2 separate regions of the Homo sapiens genome follow, and region 2 is linked to region 1. The links are contacts of gene promoters, found by promoter capture Hi-C in blood cells and fetal thymus (Javierre and others, 2016). All regions are on one chromosome and are shown on one strand. The core of a region is centred on a gene start or on the middle of the fragment in contact, and the rest is flanking DNA. Distances in the headings are between cores, read along the strand shown. Region 1 holds the start of SPATA13-AS1 (SPATA13 antisense RNA 1). Region 2 overlaps FGF9 (fibroblast growth factor 9).

Region 1 (6,845 bases), core at 139-2,638:
AGTTAGTGACTGTCTTTCTGTCACTCACCCAGGGGTTCAGGTCCCAGGATGGAAGATTCAGCTGTCCGAGCTTAGGTGATATGTCCACCACCTGGTGGTACTGGAACAGGAAGAAGGGTGGGGTGTCTGTCTCCAGGGACCCTTGCCTTCTATATGTGAAGACAGGCCAAGTAAGTATTTAACAGAGCAGACAGTACTATAAAGAAAAATAAAACAGGATAGAGAGCATTCATTTCCAAAGAGTGTTATTCTAATGACACTCTAATGAACAGGATGCACCTGTTCCATGAACCCTCTCTCTCTTCCCTAGAAGGAGACACCCAGATCCTCATCAGTGGCAGCAGACACCTCCAAGTCTAGGACCTCTTAGGATAACTAGTCCTCCAGTTCCATGCAGTGCCTCTTCAGCGTTGATTAACTAGAGGCAGATTTAAGCAACACATCCCTACCAGAATGGCAAGGCAGGGAAAGGAAGGAAATAGAGAATTTGGGATGCTGTGGAGAATAAAACGTCATGCAAAGTTTACATTTCAGCATTTGAACAGATTCCATAAGTCAATATGTAGGATGCACCAAGGCACCAGTGACGGCCCTGCAGAAGATGACTTTGGGTAATGTGAGGAGTAGGAGCAGGTGGGGGAGATAGCCTCCTCTCCAAGGAGGTGACGCTGGGGACAGGTGAGTAGGAGGCAGTGAGGCAGAGATCCGAGGGAGGAGAAGTCCTAGCCGAAGGAGCACCAGAAGCCCAAAGACAGGCAGGAAACATGATGTGTCTGAGGTTCAGCAAGGAGGCCACAGTGACAGGAGCTCAGGGAGCAAGAGGCAGACGAGGATGTTGCAGGCTGGGAGGTGGGCTGAGGCTGGAAAGGGCTCTGCAGGTCATGAGGAGGCTGAGCTTGTTCTAAGTGTGGTGTGAAGCCATTGGCAGCAGGAGCATATTATGTTCCGGTTTATGCTTAGAGAGGGAGGGCAGTTTGTGGGGGGAAAGGAAGAGGAATGGAGATTGATTTGAAGGCGATTGCATTAGTCCATTTGAGAAATATGGTAGCAGTGACCACAAAAGCCATCCCCATTTTCCGTGGGTGCTCATTTTCCCAGTGGTACGAAGAGGCAAAAATGGCCAGCCTTGGTTCTGATTCACTGTGGCCAGGACTGTGAACTCTGGAGGAAGTACTTCTCCCTTGGGCACTAAATTCAGTTTCAACAGAGCAGAGTTCCTAGGTGGGAAGAAAACATTTTGCAAGTATATTATTAAGTAATCCTAAGAAGCCGCTTCTATGTTTACCCTTGGTTTCCGGCCCTGCATCTTCTGCTGTGGGCCAGCCTCTCCAAATTAGTCACTGCTTCAGAGCTTGCGTCCCATCCAGGGCAGTATGGCAACTTCTGGGTGTGTCTCCCAGCTGCCTCTGTAACTTCATTTTTATTTGGTTGTTATTGGGTGTGATGGGGTCATGTGCTTCCTTCTCTGTGACGTTCTGGGCCTGGATGGCGTGTGAGATGCTGCGACAGGATAGGGGCCTTCTAGAGGATCCACAGAGTGCAGGAAAACAAATCCAAGCCCAGCATAAGTGGCCCTTCCAGTAGGGACAAATCACCACCCCCTCTATTATGAAAAGGCCCCACTGCAATCAGCTTTCCGCAAGGGGCTGTCTGGTTCCTGCGGGGAACCGTATCATCAGCTTTGTTGAGGGGAAGGCCCAGACTTCCTGTGGTTTAGCCCAGGCTTGGCATCCATTTTTGCCACCATGGCCTTTTTCTTGCTTGCTTCTTTTTTTTTTTCCTTTTTATGAACCCACTGAGCAAGTATCAAGATGACTAGGAAGGAAGACTGGCATCTAGCTGCACATTGGGACAGCATGTCCACATGATGATTGATTAGCCTCTCTTGCAATAAGGATTCATGTAGGATGGACATCATCTCATGCTCTGCGGGTATTCTGAGGTAGCCAGTTATACTCCTTCCCCAAACCCATCCTCAGCCCATCTTGTTCTTTCCACATTCCTCCAGGCCATTCAGCCAGGCCATTAGCTCCTAACCAGGAGTGCGCACGAGCTAAATCCTTGCCTTGCCAAAGCCATCTCTCCTACTCAGAAAGGCTTGGGAAGAGTATTGCTTACATTTGCCGCCGGGAGTTTCCCTGTCCTGAGGACACAGTCACCAGGCTGATGGTAGGAGTTCTCTTTGAGAAGCTAGGAAGAAGACTTGTAGTAGGATGCCTACCCTGAGGCTCCCTGGCTCTGCTCCATCAAGAGGCCTGAGTCTGGGAGTTGAGTGAGGGCCCTCCCTTGTCTTCTCTGTCATGGTGGCTCAGGTCGGGCTCTGCTTGCCAGCCCTGGAGAGTTCCTCCTACACAATGTTGTGGTACCTTTGTGGAATCACTCATCTGTTTTGTTCCTGGGGACCCCGAGATCAGTTAACAGCACAACCAGAGATTTCACAGGTCAAACCATTCAGATGACCAAGCTGGCCCTGCTGTGTGGTATAGTAACTATGCCCACCTTTTTCCCATGACAGATGTCCCACCCCCATGGAGGACCAGGTTTGCATTGCAGTGGAACCATCTCTCAGCAGCATCTCTGGCCTAGAGAGATTAGCAGTACATTAATTATAAAAGCTGCTGTCACATGGGAGATGCAGCCCAAGGGGTGGTGAGACTCACATGATAGACCATCTCTAGCATTTCCATCCCAGTCCTGGAACTCCTTCCTTTCTATGCACTGAGGGTTTTAGGTTTATATACCAACGAAGTGCTAGAATGGCATCCAGCTCAGTAAGCCCACAAATTGAGCTCAGCAAACCAGCTGTAAAAGCATCATTTTGAGACACGTTGGGGAGATTTTCAGATGAACTGAATATTTGGCAACATGAAGGAATTATTTTTAATTTTGTTAGTTGGGATAAGATAGTGCAGTTATTTTTAAGTCCTTGTTTGTTATACACAGATAGTGAAATACTTTCTGCATAAAATATGATATGTGAGATTTGTTTTAAAATACTCCAAAAAAGTTGGTGGGAAATAGTTGAAACAATATTGGCAAAAGACTGATAATCGTGGGTTCATGGTATTATCTGCTTTTGTGTGTATTTGAAATTTTCTGTAGTATCAACTTTTAAATAATAATGAAAGTATATTTCTCCTCCCTGGTCAAGTATTCTCAAAATCTTGATAACCAAAGGTTGGTAAATGGATATAAAAATAGAGCTAGACAGGAAGAATAAGTCCTACTGTGCCACAGTTAATGACAATGTATTGTATAGTTCAAAATAGCTAGAAGAGAGGATTCAAATGTTCTTAATACAAATAAATGATAAGTGCTTGGGGTGATGATATGCTAATTACCCTGATTTGCTCATTCCACATTGTATACATATATTGAAATATCACACTGTACCCCATAAATATTGTACAATTATTATGTGAGTTTAAAATAATAATATAAAAAACTCTCCAAATTAAGTAGTATCCACAACTAAATTTTTCTCAAAATATAGAAAATTGAACATTGCATTTAATTTTTTTTTTTTTAAAGAAATGAAGGCAGAGTCTTTCTAGGTGAATGGAGCCCTCCCTTCCGAGAACTTGGCAGCGCCGTGCTGTGCTCTTCCTTTCTCTCACCACTTTTCTCTGGCCCTGTTTGTAGCACCTGTCTTACCTCTTGCCAGCCACACAGCCTGCGAAGGCAGGTCATGTGGGACAGGCCTGAGTCATGTTTGTAGGCTACTGGGTGTGTTATTTGGGATAATAGAGTTGGGATAATGAATTTCAGTGGCACTTATTGGAGCCTTATCGGAGGGAAGAGTGACAACCTGTAAACACCACTGCATTGTTGGGGATGGTGTTTGTGGCTTCACCTTCCTTGGGTTTCAGGAAGGATGCCCACACTGCTAGAAGATTTTCCTGGGGAATTATCTTTGCCGCCTTTGCTTTGCTTTCAGTGAAGCTTTTCTCTTTCATTTGAGACAACTTACTCCATCACAGCCTACCTAAGCTCCTAATTTTTTTGTACTTAACATTGGGTTCCAACCATACTTCTTCCTTTAACCGGTCTGTTTATGTTGATCAGAAGTCAAATTCGAGTGCTTTTCAGAATTCTTACTTTGAATTTCCCTTTGTCTCTATTATCCATTCCCCTTCTCTTTCTACGTATCTTGTCCAGAGTTCAGATTAGCTTGCTTTTCTTATCTTCCAGAGAGGAGAGTGTCCAGTTTACTTCGCTGTTAGACTTGAGTGGGAACTTCACAGAGACAAGCAAAGGACGAATGCACACCCGTGCACCAAAGTCAGTCGATATGGGTAGACCCCTTTCAAAAAAAGATACCTGGTCTGTTACATTTCTTGAAAGCCCTTTAGTTAACCAGTAAGTACACCGTATTAGAGCATTTAGTAATACTGCCAGATAATAAAAGAGGAAAGTCAAGATGAGGTACAATAATAGCTAGATATAAAAACTAGAGAAAATGCCCTTTTTGAGGGGACACAAACTTGGCAAGTTGACTTGCTTTAAAAAATGTTTCTAACTTACTGAAGTAATTGCTCAATTTGATTTTTTAAATTTTTACTTTTTTTTTTTTTGGCAAATATAGTTCTTTTTTTGCAAGCTAGAAAAGAGAAGCAAATTGACCCAGTCTAGCACTCTAGTGAGCTAGGCTGAGTCACTCATTCTTTATCAGAGTGATACAGTAATACGAATTGCTAGCAGGCAGGTTGTAAAACTAAATCATAACCACCTATCCACATTTTTCATTAGGAAACAACCAAAAATTGAGTCCTTTAAAGGCAGGTTATAAATAAATAACATCTTGATCTGTGAAGGGGACAGCATGACCCAAATTTTATGCCAACCAGCCTGTCTGAGAAGCCCATCTGAGCTGGCCAGTGAGTGGTGAAGAGAGGAGTGCTTTTGAAAACGTGCTCTGAAACGATAAGAATTCTGGATTCTGGGCAGGTGTGGTGGATCACCTGAGGTTAGGAGTTCAAAACTAGCCTAACCAACATGGTGAAACCTCATCTCTTTCTCTACTAAAAATACAAAATTAGCTGGGTGTGGTGGCGCATGCCTGTAATCCCAGCTACCTGGGAGGCTGAGGCAGGAGAATTGCTTGAACACGGAAGATAGAGGTTGCAGTGAGCCTACATTGCGCCATGGCACTCCAGCCTGGGCAACAAGAGTGAAACTCTATCTCAAAAAAAAAAAAATAAAAAGAACTCTGGATTCTGCCTGTCAATAAGAAAGCAAGTAAAAAGTGTCACAGATGTGTGAAATTGGTCCTTGTTTATACCGGAGTTTACCATGAGAATGAAGAGTTCATCTCAAAAAAAAAAAAAAAAAAAAGGCCAGGCACGGTGGCTCATGTCTGTAATCCCAGCACTTTGGGAGGCTGAGGTCGGCAGATCACTTGAGCCCACAAGTTTGAGACCAGCCTGGCCAACATGGCAAAACCCCATCTCTACTAAAAATACAAAAAAATTAGCCAAGAGTTGTCGTGCGTTCCTGTAGTACCAGCTACTCAGGAGGCTGAGATGGGAGGATTGCTTGAGCCTGGGAGGCAGAGGTTGCAGCGGGCCAAGATCGCACCACTGCACCCAGCCTGGGCAACAGAGTGAGACCTCCTCTCCGCTAAAAAAAAAGAGAGACTGAAAAGTTAGAGATATGAGTGAGGAATAAGATACTTAAATTTTGAAAATAAATGTCTTAGTGATAAATCCAGCATGCTACATTTCCCCTTTTACCACAAGAACAAACAAAGGACTATTTTAAAAGAAATGCTGAGTTCTAAACAGAACACTTTCTACCACAGAAACAGGTCCTCTTCCCCGTACGATCAAGGTTACTGCTCTTCCACTACTCAGGTCCACGTCAGGAGCTTTGTCAGGGCAGGAAATTCATAAAAGGAGAGCATATCCTAGCTAGCCACTGGGGAGCAAGGTTAGCATCCTTGGGGTGGACCATCCATATGGGTAAGCTGTAGTTTTGATAAGAATCTGCAGGCTGCCCGTGAGCATCTCGTCTCATGCCTGGCCTTGTGCACTCTGAGCTGGGTGCTGGGCCTCCCAAGAACCCCTGGGGCCCAACAGGCACGTGCAAGTGACCCTGCAGGAATGCTGCTACCTCCTTGCTAAGCCCAAGAGAACGGGGAAGACCACAGCTCCCAAAGGTCTTAGGGAGTCTTATGGGGGCTCTTCTTGTGAACAGATCAGTGCATCTTTCTGCTGCTGTCTGCAGGGAGGGGGCAGAGCAAGGGGCTTCCACCCACGTGGCCGCCAAGTGGAGCCATCCCCACCTGCCATCCCCAAAACAGCCCCCAGAGCCTCACTTGCTTTCTTACTCTGGTAGATGTTTTCTGCACAGGATTGAGGCTGGTCTGAATAAAGAAAAAACAAAAACGTACCAAGACATTTTCCAGTGAGTTTAAGGCTCAGTGGTTTCAAAGTACAATTGGGGATTATCATTCAGGGGGTGACATTCTTTCCCTGTCTACTGCTCTGGTTTTTTCTGTTTGATTTTGTACTGAATGTATACATCCCCTTAGAAATGGAAAAGATTTACTTATTTATGTATTTATTTACTTTTCTCTATTTAGGGATTAGTATTGGTTGTAAAACCTCATCAGCTCAACATTATGATACTTTGATGAGCTTAAAATTATTGGGAAATGCTATAGGAGGGGCCAGCAGGGCTTAATCAACCAGTATTGTCTCAGGAAATGTCCAGGGTGCTCCGAAACCTTTCTGAATTGGATTTTATTTTATTGTATTATTATTATTATTTTAGATTTTCTTTAGAGACAGAGTCTCACTCTGTTGCCCAGACTGGTCTCAAACTCCTGGCCTCCCACCTTGGCT
Region 2 (7,484 bases), core at 137-2,636, 2.6 Mb before region 1:
GGGGGAAAATGACTTGGGAAGAGGCAGGGCGCTCAGGGGTTTTTGTCCTTCCAGCTATCAAGTGATAACCTCTGCTTTTAAATTTCCATAGTGTGCAGCCCTGTGTAGGTCTCCTGCGTGGCTCTCTGGTGTGAGTGTGTGCGCGCGTGCAAACGCTGCGAGCGAATTTTAAAGGGCATTCCGAGGATTTCATTTTTCAGCGGAGGGTATTTGTGACTCAGCACTGAGGGCTGCAGACTCGAGGGCTGGTGGCTCTGCCCACTTTATGCTTGCACACACGTGCTTGCCGGGGCACCCTGAGCCCAACGGCACGAAGTCAACTAACACAGTCCCAATTGGGTGGACTCTTGAGTTTTTTCCTTACTTAAAAAAAAAAAAATAAGCGCCAGTTTGGGCAACTAGACTGTTGGAAGGAGTTAACTTCTGAGTGAACCCACCTGACAACACTTAAACTAGGTCGTAAAAAACAAAGTCCTCTGGTGATTTTTCTTCCTCATGCTTTAGTGCCAGATGTTGAACACAATCTAAACTGTATGTTTAGCTTCGTGCGGCTGCGGATGATGCCAGAAGGTGAGGAGGACTTAGGCCTGGGCTGGGGATGGTCCCAGATCCACGAGGCCCAGGATTTGCTCCTCATGCTCACCCCTGAGCCTAAGCCCACAGCTGAGCCTAGTAGTGTGAAATTGCTCCGGCCGTCTCCACTCGCTGCTTAAAAAAAAGTTATAGCTCTTTGCTTTGCAATTATTCAGTTGAAATATAACTATCCCCTCCCCACCCCAGAAGTAAAGGTAGATTCTGGTTGTTGCAAAGAGAAGACTAAACTTTACTAAAAGTGCCGTTTCCATCTGGCCTCTTTAAGGGCTGCCACCCTGCCTAGCGTTCGATACCAGAACAACAGGCAGTGGGCGGCCCTGGGTGGGCGAGCGAGCGTGTCCGGGGCCGCGGCGGCCACCCGCAGGGTGTCGGGGCCGCGCCGACCGAAGCGAGCGGCGTGGGCGGCCGGCCTAGGTGTGCCAGGCGGCCGGAGCTCCAGCCCTCCCGCGCTCGCGGTCGGCAGGTGCCCGCTCGGCCGCCCGGGCCCCGCGGCGCACTTAGCGGCTGCCCGGCCGGCTCCGCGCGGTCCTAAACGCGCTCGCGTTCCGGCTCCCTTTCCGCCTGGCTCGGGTGCGCCCTTCAGTGCTGCGGGGACCACGGGGGCCGGGGGGCGGCAGGCAGGGGCTGACACACTTCTGGCCGCGTTTAGGGAATCCGGTTTTTCATTTTGGCCCAAGTTGAGCCCCTTCGCTTTCTCTTTGTGTGTGAGAGTGGGTCTGGCGGGGCTGACAGCCGCCGCCCTGGGCTGCACGGTGGTTTGCGGTGTGGGAACGGCTGGAGGCGCGCGCAGCGGCAGGAGAGTTGGTGGCGGGGACAGAGGACGGGCTGGAGGTCGGACCCCTGAGCTCCCCTGTCCCATTCCGTGTCCTTCTTCTGAAGCACGCAGCCGGGTTTTGGAGACTCGAAGGGCTCCGTGGTGCCCGGGAGGTGGGTCGGGGGCCCCTGGCCGGAGCCGCAGGGAAAGGAGTGGGGGTGGGGGGGACAAAGGGCCGCGGAGGCGGGCGGAGGGGGCGGCGTGCTATTGTTAACCGCTTTCCGAGAGCAGAGCTCGCGAGCTCGCCGATCGCGATCTGGCTTTCCCGCGCCCCCGCCTCCGCTCCGGCTTCACAACCGGGGGAGCCCGGGGTGTGCGCGGGAGCGCGGCGGGGGCGCACGGCTGCAGGGGCGCCGCGGCGGGCCCGAGCCGGTTTTATTGTGTGGATCAGCCGAGCCTGTCTTTGAGAGACCCTATTAGAACTCCGGTGCAGCACGACTGGGCCCTGGTGTGCAGAGATTATGGGATATTCTAGTTGGCGCTTCTTCACGCACCCCTTCCCTCCATGAGCATTTTTTTTTTTTGATGCAGTCACCTTTAGGATAGGACGTTTGCCACATGCAGTCGAGTCATTAGAAATCCCGTAACTCTGCCACTGGAGAGAGCGCGGATGCAAGGGCGGGGGCCACGCGGGAGGGGAGGGCAGGAGAGGCGCATTCTAGGGTGAGCGGATGAGGACAGCGGCGGGCTACAGTGGCTCAATAGAAACCGTTAAACAAAAAGCTAGACCCCTCACCCCTAGAGGTCAGAGAAAGGTGTTGTCAGGGAAGTGGCATCTCCACTCCTTAGACGCTCTCGGTACAGTGTTGCGGGGGATGTGGGGGCTGGGGGGGATGTGGGGGCTGGGGGGAGGGGCTAGGGGTAGTGTTGGATGGGAGGGGAGCGGAAGCCCCGGCCCAGGTTGGGGACTGGGGGCGCCGAGCCGCTAGCTAGCCCGTCGGCCTGGCGTCGGCCGAGGGGGAAGGGCGCTCTGGCGCTCCGCTGTGCCACTCACTCTGGCTGGGATGGAGTTGAGTGGGTGGCTGTGCGCAGTGGGGGTGGGGAAGCAGGGTGAGGCAGGAGGGTTATTTAAGTCTTTCATCCGGTTGCAGTGAGAAGCGGGCCCCCGGGGTGACAGCAGTGCCGCGGTCTCCCGCTGCTGCCGCTGCGGCAGGTCCCAATATTAGCAACCTCCGCAGAGCGGTGGTGCGTGTGCCGGGAGCCTCCTACCCTCGCCTTCCCAGCCCCGCCCGGAACGAGGCCGCGGCGGCGCTAGGACACCGCGGCTCGCGCGGGGAGGGCGGAGGGAGGGCACAGGCGCCGGGAGGGGGCGAGGGGGCTGCGGTGCCCCGGCTCTGGCACACCTGGCGCTCCCGCGCGCCGCCGCGGCCTCACCTTCGGCCCTCCTCCTCCTCCGGCAGCAGCCTCTCCTCCGCAGCCCGGCTCCCCTCTGGGGAGTTCGTCCTCACACTCAGTTTCTCTAGAAAAGAGTAACTGTAGGTGGGGGGTGCGGTGGGTTTACACCTTGATTAAAATAGAAGGTGCATTTTCTACCTGAAATCAAACAGCAGAAGGAAACGCGCTGGAAAAAGGATTTTTGCCGCCCCCATGCAGCCGCAGGTGACTGCAGCTGCTGGCAAGCTTGGCAGTGACACAGCAGCAGCAGTGCAGAGGACGTGGGGGTGGGGGAGTCTTACTGTTCCAGCAGGAGCTGCAGAGGTGACAACTTAGGTGGGACCTTGAAGGAGCCTTTTTTTTTTTTTTTCCCCCTCGGATTGGTGGTGTGGAGATAAGATTGAACAAGGAGAAAAGGAACTCGCAATTGTATCTCTGTGCAGTAGGCTGGGGGAGCGAGATGTCTTGTTTCATCTGTATATCTATATGCCTATATATAGAGCTCACTTTTAAAGCACTCCAGCCTTGCTAGATGGATAGAAATGTGAGCAGAAAATCATTTGGGGAAATAGTAATGTAAAATAATAAAAACATGAACGCTGGGCCTGATCTGCTATTTAACTTGTTTAGGAAACCTAAGTCTGTTCCCTTTTTGGCTGGGGTTAGGTAGCTCTGAAAGGCCGGTCTTCATCAGGACCTCAGATGAGCACCCAAACTGGGGCTTCCATTCAAATTGGGTCAGGTGAAGGTTTTACTAGAGGGGAGAAATATGATAGTATGATTTTTTTAAACAGGTGTTTAAAACTTATTTCCAGGGTTTTGAACTTTAATTCTGTTCTATGTATCTGACTCTTCAATGTCTCAGGAAAACACTGGGTGTTTAAGGAGATGGTTTTAGGATTGCTTCAGGTTCTGGAAAAATTAGTGGAGTTATAACTCCCATTCAGTTAGTCATTTCCTATATAAACTCTATGAGATGTGCTCAGGTTGCTACAGATCCGAACTTACCCCGGTGCAGGATCTGAGATGGTTGATCTGGCAGCCCTGGTTCGAGCTTCTCTGGGTGAGCAGGAAGCTCTGCAGGGAAGAGGCTTAATCATTAATTTTCTGCAGCCTCATGCCCTGCCCCTCTCGACAGTCTGCCTACATTTGTGTGGTCTGAAGAGTGCGGTTCTGTAATGCGTTGGGGGCTCTTAAGCCAGAGAACCATGTCATGAGGGCCAGAGTGGAGCAGCTCTGACTGCCTTCCTCTCCCACTGCCTTGCCTGGCCTTGGAGGTGAGGCCCAGCACAGATGGGCTCTAGGGGGCGGTGCCAGCTTTGGGATAATGGTCCATGTGAACAGAACTGGGGCAGCCCATCAGCTCTGGGGATAGTCACTAATAGTGAGTCTGGGGCAATGAGGAAGGTCCGGTGTGGTGATTTTCCTGAAATAGTCCAGGCATTGACCTGGTCTCTCATGGACCATGGATGATCTCACACCTCATCAAATCCAATGGGGTCCCAATGAGCATATCCTCATTTGGAACTGTTGACTGCTGTGGAAGAGAACAAAGAAATGACAGCAGTCATCGACCCTGTGCTTCCCATGTCACCCTATCACTACCCATTACTGTGGGCCGTCTGAGCTAAGGATGTCAAGGCTGTGTCTGCCCAAAATGAGCGACAGGCTGCCATGGTACACATGTGTGTGCCACAGTTCTAATTTTAGGCACAAACTCATCATTCCCTCCCTTCCTCCTCCCCTCTTCCTTCCTTCTTTTCTTTGCTCTTTCCTTCTTTCCCTTTCTCTCTCCTTGATCATTAAACATTCAGATGTCTCTGCACAGAAGGCTTCTCCTGGCTGTTATTGATCCAGCCCCCTCTGCTGCCCAGTCATGTGAGCAGATAACATGTGGAGTGGGTTGTACTCAGGGAGTGTAGTTGGAAGCACTTGCCTGGCACCAGCTCCACCCCAGAGAGAGCTGAATGGACCTGGTTGAGGTTATAGAATTTATTGTGGACAAGAGGGTACCAGGAATGATGAGGTTTCTGGTCTGGTTGGGGTGGGATCCTGTTGCGGGGTTGCTAGATCTTCCTGACCTTACAACAGTGGAATTCTTTGCATGGGGGAGAATGACTGTGACTCCTACGTTCAGTTGGTCTGCTTGTCCTTGCATCACTGAGGTGACCACATAAAAAGCTGGGCTGTTATTTTGACGTCTCTATTTTTAAGGAACTGCGGAGAAATGGGTGGTGGTTTGAGGTGATGAAATCTTTTCCACCTGGGGTCTGTAGGTAGTTCCTTCTCGCTTGGATAGCTTTTTGGAGACTTATCTCAGGTATTTATTTTCTTGGGAAGCCTCTGACTTGCCTTCAGAAACCCAGATGAGCTGCCCATCTTTGGACTGCCCATACCCTGAACAGCTCCCTCTCAACTGCATTTGCCACACTGTTGTTATATTTATCTGTTTACGTGTTCTTCTTCCCAACAGATGGTGAGCAAAAATTTGAGGGTAATAGGACCTAGGCTATATCCGGTTCATCTTTATATACTCAATAAATGGTATGGTGCTTGGCTTATAATAAACCCTCAATAATAGCTTCTTGAATGAAAAAGTGAACGAATATGAATTACAGCTGTCTTGTCAATGCCAGAAAAAGAAACGAGATAGATATCTTGATATCTTCATTTCTAAATTATATAGTAATACTTTCAGAACTCAGCTATATGAAAATGGTACAGAAATCACAGAAACATTAAAAAAGGTAAAACCAAATGTAAGATGTGCATAATAGTTAAGGAAATAGGTTTTGGAGTCCAGTTGCTTGGGGGCTAATTATTAACCTCCTTAAACCTCAATTTCCCCATTTGTACACTGGGGATTAGAATATTGTAATGCCTAGAGTTGTTCTGGGGATTAAATGAGAGACGGCCTCTCATTTGGCATAGACTAAATGCTCAAGAATTTTTACTATTACAATTATCATTGCTGCTGCTGTTATTTTTTTTTCTTGATGTTCTGCAGACCAGCCAGTGAAAAGGTTTTGTGAAATCACATGCACCTTATTCTTTGTTGGACCTGATGGGCAACACTGGCTAATATTCATTATTAGTCCTCAGCTACTCCGTGTGCAGGGAAAGCAGAAAGATCATCACATGCTCCCTTAGAAGCTGCAAATATTTTTTAGTTTTATGATTAAACCTTTCCTTATTGACCTGGTAAATTAAATCATTCAGACCTCAAAAGGGGCCAAATGTTTCCTGCATTTCATCTTACGACGAAAATTGAACATTAATTAACTCATTACATTAATTTCAGGGTATGTATGACCCACATTTTGGTGTGCTTTCAGGTTACTAAGAAGATATTCACATACATGTGACTGCTAATAATAATAAAATGCCACAATTTTAGTTATTTTGACTCAGAAGAATAGTACAATGAAATAAAATGCATCAAAAAGGGAGTGCATCTCATGAAAAATGAATCTCATGGAAATATTGCCTTATTTATATTCCCATTTGCTTTTGAAGTAGGGAAGGCTAGTAATAAACTGGCTTCTTTTGCATGTATTCTCCATCATAGAGTCATAGATTATCAGATTCAAAACACAATTTGTAATTTCACTTTTTTTGATATACTGTTTAACATCCTATTAAAATAATTACATTAAGCACAAGATAAATTTGTTACATTTTGTCCTTATAAAAGAATTAGGAATGCCCCTTTAGAAGAAATAGCTCTTCTTTTTTACATCACCTTGAAATAGTTTCCTCTTGAGTTAATCCTTTATTAGATTTATGCTGTTCATGTCTTCTTTTGATTGCAGTACCAGTGTATTTTGTGAGAGTTGCAGAATTAATTGTTGAAAAATTCATGTAAGTGCTTTTTTATTAGTCACATGAGACTGACTATAGCACATTGTTACCCTAAGTTTTTTTCTGAACTCTTAAATGTAAGTAAAATTTTTAATATTTGAAAGTATTTTTAAAACAAGAACTCAATATTTGATATGCATTAATGTAAGGTCTACATAAAATGTAGCACTTTAATTTACAATAAAAAGGAAAAAATGGCTGAGTACAAATAATATTAGCAGTGTCCAGACAGGCGCGGTAGCTCACGCCTGTAATCCCAGCACTTTGGGAAGCCGAGGCGGGTCGATCACGAGGTCAGGAGATTGAGACCATCCTGGCTAACACAGTGAAACCCCGTCTCTACTAAAAATACAAAAAAAAAAAAAAAAAAAAATTTAGCCCAGCGTGGTGGCTGTCCCAGCCTGAAGTCCCAGCTACTCAGGAGGCTGAGGCAGGAGAATGGTGTGAATCCGGGAGGCGGAGCTTGCAGTGAGCCAAGATCGCACCACTACACTCCAGCCTGGGCAACAGAGTAAGACTCCATCTCAAAAAAAAAAAAAAAAAAAAAATTAGCAGTGTCCTAAATATACTGTGGGCTAATCATCTTATAACCACACTGTAGTTACAGAAATTGAAACTGCTGTTGTGTGGCCATAAAATTCTGGATTTATGCCCAGCTTAGGTGTTATTCTTAGTGAGGTAAGCAAGGGGAAAGAAGGAAGTAAAATAAGATCATTGTGTCGATTTGATTTTGGAATACAGCATTCCATGCCTACTTTAAATCAAGAGCAGTATTTATCTCTTCAGAATATTATTATTTTAATTGCTTAACTATCTCTTTGAGGTTTAGATAAGTATAGCA

Evidence for each region. The method cuts DNA at HindIII sites, captures the fragments that hold promoters and counts their contacts. A CHiCAGO score of 5 or more calls a contact.
Region 2: a fragment that was not itself captured here is called in contact with the fragment with the promoter of SPATA13-AS1 in region 1 in 3 of 17 cell types (non-activated CD4 T cells, activated CD4 T cells and naive CD8 T cells); the score reaches 6.8 in non-activated CD4 T cells.

What each region holds. Positions count from the first base shown.
Region 1 is chr13:24,253,051-24,259,895 of GRCh38, forward strand. SPATA13-AS1 (SPATA13 antisense RNA 1) reads right to left here and starts at 1,389. Exons shown (of 3, transcript NR_046531.1): 1 at 1,286-1,389; 2 at 29-149. The region is part of intron 4 of SPATA13 (spermatogenesis associated 13); the gene reads left to right. The HindIII fragment of the contact is 5,552 bases long and covers 1-3,940 here.
Region 2 is chr13:21,672,788-21,680,271 of GRCh38, forward strand. The region is part of intron 1 of FGF9 (fibroblast growth factor 9); the gene reads left to right. Among named protein-coding and RNA genes, the nearest start is that of FGF9, 5.5 kb to the left of the region's middle. RefSeq lists silencers at 880-1,099, 1,120-1,249, 2,660-2,709. The HindIII fragment of the contact is 3,279 bases long and covers 1-3,026 here.